2 separate regions of the Homo sapiens genome follow, and region 2 is linked to region 1. The links are contacts of gene promoters, found by promoter capture Hi-C in blood cells and fetal thymus (Javierre and others, 2016). All regions are on one chromosome and are shown on one strand. The core of a region is centred on a gene start or on the middle of the fragment in contact, and the rest is flanking DNA. Distances in the headings are between cores, read along the strand shown. Region 1 holds the start of KLHDC8A (kelch domain containing 8A). Region 2 has its middle 25 kb from the start of SLC60A1.

The links. The method cuts DNA at HindIII sites, captures the fragments that hold promoters and counts their contacts. A CHiCAGO score of 5 or more calls a contact.
Region 2: a contact is called between a fragment that was not itself captured here and the fragment with the promoter of KLHDC8A in region 1, in 2 of 17 cell types (total CD8 T cells and naive B cells). The highest score is 6.6, in total CD8 T cells.

What each region holds. Positions count from the first base shown.
Region 1 is chr1:205,355,414-205,358,179 of GRCh38, forward strand. It overlaps KLHDC8A (kelch domain containing 8A), which reads right to left and starts at 1,509. Exons shown (of 6, transcript NM_018203.3): 1 at 1,120-1,509. The HindIII fragment of the contact is 6,427 bases long and covers 1-2,766 here.
Region 2 is chr1:205,542,790-205,545,641 of GRCh38, forward strand. No RefSeq gene overlaps it. Among named protein-coding and RNA genes, the nearest start is that of SLC60A1, 25 kb to the right of the region's middle. RefSeq lists silencers at 612-661, 762-891 and an enhancer at 752-1,046. The HindIII fragment of the contact is 247 bases long and covers 1,348-1,594 here.

The sequences.
Region 1 (2,766 bases), core at 259-2,758:
AAGAGTCATTTTTCCCGTTTCTATAGAACTTCATCTATAACTATGTTAGCATGATAATAACCACCACTCATTATTCTAAACACCACACTACATTCTTTACATATTTTGTATAATTTGAACCTCATAAAAAGTCAATAATAACAATAATAATCATCTTTAACAAGTATATGGTGCTCAATATGCGTCATGAACTGATCAGAGTTTGGTGTGTGTGTGAGTTGTGTGTGTGTATAATTTAGCCTATAAAGTAGGTACTATTATTATTGTCATTGTACAAAGGTGAAAACTTAGACTTAGAGAGGTTAAATGACTTGCCCAAGGTCACACAGCCAGAACAGGGATGTGACATCTAGCTTGCCTGGCCCCGGAATCCCCATACCTGTCTATGTAGATATTCTTTCTTACCAGATGGTAAGCATCGGAAGGCAGGAACCATGTTATGTGCCATTGCTGTCAAAGCACTTTCCCTTCGGAGCCAAGCACAGCAATGTGTATGTACATAGTAGGTAGTCCATAAGTTTTAAAAATCTTAATTTTAGACCCAGGGGCATGTGCGCAGGTTTGTCACAAGGGTGTATTTCGTGTTGCTGTGGTTTGGGTTTCTATTGATCCCGTCACCTGTATAGTGAACACAGTAACCTAATAGGAAGTTTCTCAGCCCTTGTCCCCCTCCCCCCCTCCCTCCTTTTTGAGTTCCCAGTGTCTATTGTTCCCATCTTGATGTCCATCTGCATCCAGGGTTTACCTCCCACGTTTGTAAGTGAGAATATGCAATATTTGGTTTTCTGTTTGATATTCCATAAAGTTGAGCTGAATTCGGATCAGAAGCCAGAAGTTCTGGAGGTTGGCTGTATGTTGGTCAGTCTGTGCCCTGGACAGCAATCTTTGGAGTTAATTAGCTGGGTTAAAACCAGATGGGAAGGAACCTTTAACTTCAAAGCTAGAGAGGCCCAGCTGAGGAGAAAAGGCCCTTGGAGACCCTTGTCCCTCCTGACCCCCATGCCAGCCTGTCTACCTGGGCAGCCCTCCTCTCACAGACACCACTGCCTGTCTCCCCACCAGCAGGCCCTCAGAATGCCAAGGCATCACTCTGCATAGATGGATTGAAATAAAACTTACCTGACTGGAGGGAAAAGGATCGACACCCGGCGATCATCTGCAAAAGACAAAGAAGGGGAGGGGCCGGGAGAGGGTCGAGCGGGTGTTGGCTCTGAGGCTTGTCCTAGGAGCTGGCTGGGAATAGAGTCGGCAAGGTCCCCAGGGTCCCCAGGGCTTCCTCCACAATTGATGAGTCCACTGCTGCTGCCTCTGGCTGATCGACTGGGATGCAGCCAGGCCCCTATGCACAGGGCATGGGGCCAGCCCCGCCCTGAATGCACAGAAACTTGGGGTCCCTGAGTTCCAGGAGGCGTGACCCCCCTACTGAGAGGGCCTCAGCCAGCTCGTCAGAGCCCCAGTGTCTCCGCGCCTCTCCCTCCACCCAGTCTCAGCTGCAAAGGCCCGCTCTGCGAGGAGAGCGGGTGAGGGGGCGGACACGCTCACACACACAGACAATAACTGCCATGGAAACTAACCAACAAAAAGAAGATTTAGGGAGCCGGACTCCTCTGCCAGATGGGAGAGAATGGAGGGAAGAGAGAAAGGGGCTGTCCTTTGCAACGCTGCCAGTTATGCAAAGGGCAAATGTGCACCTCAGCCCTAATCCAACAATTGCAGATTTTTCCCTCCTCAGGGGTGGGGCTGTGGGTAAAAGGCAGAGAAGTGGGTTGACCTTTTTATATGAAGGTCCCAAACAGCCACCCCATACCTTTGCCTTTCTATGCACAGAGGAGGCATCAGTGTGGTCCAGCGTGGGTGCGAGATTCCCAAGGAAATGCTCAGCACCGCTGGCAAAGCGAAACTCGTTCCACAAAGCAACGTGTTTTACCAGGTCAAGCTGAACCTCAGGGGAATTTGATCACTTTACTTGGGCAGAAGGCTTGAAGGACTTTCTTAGATGAAAAGCCCACTGTTTAATGGGTAGCAAAACAAGGCTTTTCTTCAAGACCAACCTTTCTATCCATGATGTTAAATCTGACTGCCCGTAGTTTAAAGAAAGCCGGGGATGGAGTGGGGGCTAGCATCGATATGGCTTTCCTTCCGATGGCCTTTAGTTTTGTTTGGGGAGATTTTTCTCTCTGGGATAAAAGAAAATCTAATGAGGGAACTTAAAAAAAATTCTCTGGAGGTACTGTAAGGGAAATAAGGTAATCTGAGCACCAGAAATCCTGCTCTAACTCTTTAGCTGTGTGACCTTTGGCAAGTTTCTTCGTCTGTAAAATGGGACCAATGGGGTTGTAGAGAGGATTAAATGAGGTAATATGTGTAACGTGCTTAGAACAGTACCTGGCTCATAGTATTTGCCATTGTTATGGCTATTGTTGTTAATCTTTCTGATCCTCCCTTTCCTCAGCTATAAAATGGAGCCAGTGACACCAATCTCTCATGGATTAAGTGTGAGGATGAATCATGTCGTTATAACTGATGGAGTGGTGGTTATAAGGGTGTATACATTTGTCAAAAACCATCAAACTGTGGGTTTTATTGTGTGTAATTTATACCTCAACTTTTTAAAATATAGGTTTATATCACCAGGTAAAGCAGCCATGAGTGTCTAGAACATAGGAAATATTTATTCCCTTCTTCCTCCCTAGCCATCTTTTCAGGAAGAGAGGAAAGAGAAAGTGAATGTTAGAAGAAAGAAGTAAAATAGAGAATTGCTGGGTG
Region 2 (2,852 bases), core at 221-2,720, 190 kb after region 1:
TTTTAAATAATTATTTGGGTTTTTGTTTGTTTGTTTTTATTTATTTTTTGAGATGGAGTTTCACTCTTGTTGCCTAGGCTGGAATGCAATGGCACAATCTCGGCTCACTGTAACCTCCGCCTCCCAGGTTCAAGCAATTCTCCTGCCTCAGCCTCCCAAGTAGCTGGGATTACAGGTGCATGTCACCATGCCTGACTAATTTTGCATTTTTAGTAGAAACGGGGTTTCACCATGTTGGTCAGCCTGGTCTCGAACTCCTGACCTCAAGTAATCCACCTGCCTCAACCTCCCAAAATGCTGGGATTACAGGCGTGAGCCACCGCGCCTGGCTAATGTTTTTAATAATTATGAAAATGCTTTCACGCCCAGTAGCCCTTGTTGCCTCACCTTCTGTGAGGGAAACAGAGCATGCACGATTTCCCCATTTCAGTGGATGGGGAAACTGAGGCTTTGGGATTTTGAACTCCTTGCACATGGGAGGTTAAGTGGCAACACTTGGCCTCCTACCAGGCACACCCCTGCCCCAACGCTGTGCACCGTAGGTCAGTAACTCTGAACTGTTTTGTTTGCCAGCTCAGGTTTTAATCCGTTTCAGCATCGGGCCGTGAGCAGTGGCCGCGGGGCTAGCAGGAGAGCCAGAATAAGCAGATTTGGCTTCTAATCTGACTCACCCAACTGGTTCAGAATGCAGCCAAACCGGGGAAATTTGGGTGAGCTCCTCCTCTTCCCCTCCCTCACTTGCTCTCGCAGTTGTCCTCTAGCACCTCTCTCTATCCCTCCCTCCCCGTCCCCCCGCCCCACTCCCCCAGCTCTGGGAGCGCATGCGGGGGCGGGGTCCTAGGAGGATGTGAGCCCATGGACACGCGGGCGGGATGTTTTTCTCCTCGTCATTGTTCTCCCATGCCCATTGTGTGCGCTGAGAGCAGCACGTCACCAAGTCGCCTGGCAGGCTCTCAGCAGAGCTGGGGAATGTTTCCGGAGTGGACTAATCCATTATGAATGGCCGAAACTTTTTAAAAGCTCTGGCGTTTCTTTGCATGGCCAGACTGGGAGAGCCAAAGAGAAGGAAGGATTTGGAAACTCCTGGCTTTGAGGCTACAGGTCCCAGGGACCTTGGCAGACCCGTGGTTTGCCAAGAGGGCCTTTCAGACTGGGCCTGCCACCCAGTGAGGGATCTAGGAATGTCACGTGGAGGGGAAATGGCAGGTGGGGCCGTGGATGGAGGGCTCAGCTGGAGGTGTGGAAGGAGTCAAAATTGTATTATTTTTTGTTTACAACACCTGACCCCAACTTGGGACTTGGGATGGCTCACACCTGAGTATGGGAAAGGACCTAGTCACCTTTGAAAGCTTCACTGAGCTCCCCCCAGAGGAAATGGAAAGTCAGAATTGTTTTGAAGTGGGTCAGTGTTTGCCAGTGGGTGAGTAATGCTCAGTGCTCCCAGCTCTTTCCTCCCAGAGAAAGCATTCCTCTATGCATCCCTCTCTTTACCACTAGGCTGGGGGTGCCATCTCTCCGAGGTGCCCAGTGCTTTGCGTACATTTCTTCATTGTTTGATTGGTCTTGTGAGAATCAACTCACAGCAAGACCAATAAGCTTGTGTAGTAACCTATTTCTTTAGATGAGGAAACTGAGTTTCACAGAGACTGAGATTGCTCCAGACCACGCAGCTACTTTGTGGCAGAGCTGGGACTGGAACCCAGGTCTGTGACACTCCAAAGTCCATGTTCTGCGACAGAATTTCTCAAGCATTCAGGTGCATAAGTGATGGCTGGGGTGCCAGCCGAGAGTGCAGATTTCTGGGCGCTGTCCCCTCTTCCTCATCCTAATTCAACAAATCAGAGTTGGGGGCAGGAATCTGCATTTTTGACAAATAACAGGTGATTCGGAAGCGGTTGGGGCAAGGTTGAGAAACACTGACTTGGGGCTCTGTTGTTGTTGTTATTGCTTGAGACAGAGTCTTGCTCTGTCGCCCAGGCTGGAGTGCAGTGGCACGATCTTGGCCCATTGCAACCTCCACCTCCCAGGTTCAAGCAGTTCTCCTGCCCCAGCCTCCCAGTTAGCTGGGATTACAGACGTGTGCTACCACGCCTGGCTAATTTTTTTTTATTCTCCAATTTAAAACTTTTAATTAAAAAGTAAACTTCAATGTCAAAAATGCAAACTTGGGGAGGGCAGAAGTATCACCCACAAGGCTGTCACTTCACACTTGGAGGGTTGCACAGCGGCCAGGCAGAGGCACTCCTCACATCCCAGATGGTGGGCGGCGGCCGGGCAGAGGTGCTCCTCACTTCCCAGACAGGGTGGCGGCCAGAAAGAGGCACTCCTCACTTCCCAGACAGGGCGGCGGCCAGAGAGAGGTGCTCCTCACTTGACACGTGGCTAATTTTTGTATTTTTAGTAGGGATGGGGTTTCACCATGTTGAGCAGGCTGGTCTTGAACTCCTGACCTCAGGTGATCCCGCTGCCTCAGCTTCCAAAGTGCTAAGATTACAGGCGTGAGCCACCACGCCCACCCAGGGCTCTGTTTTATGACGTCAGCCAAAAGAGCAGCAACCTGGTCTGAAAACAGGCGCAGGCTAGGGCCCTGCTGAGCCCTCAAGGGGCGGCCCTCTCCCCTCACTCCGCCTTCACCTATAGAGTGAAACCCAAGAGAAGTAGCCCCATCTCTCAGAAGGCAAAGGACCCATCTTCTGCCTAGAAAATCTCCCATTGCACTTTATAACATTTTCAACCCCCAGAGAGAAACCTGAACCACACCGGAACATTTAGTCATCCCTCAGAGGTTTATGGGCCCCTTGCCATGAGTAGGGGTTGGGACAGATACCACTCAGATGGGTGTAAAGCAGGTT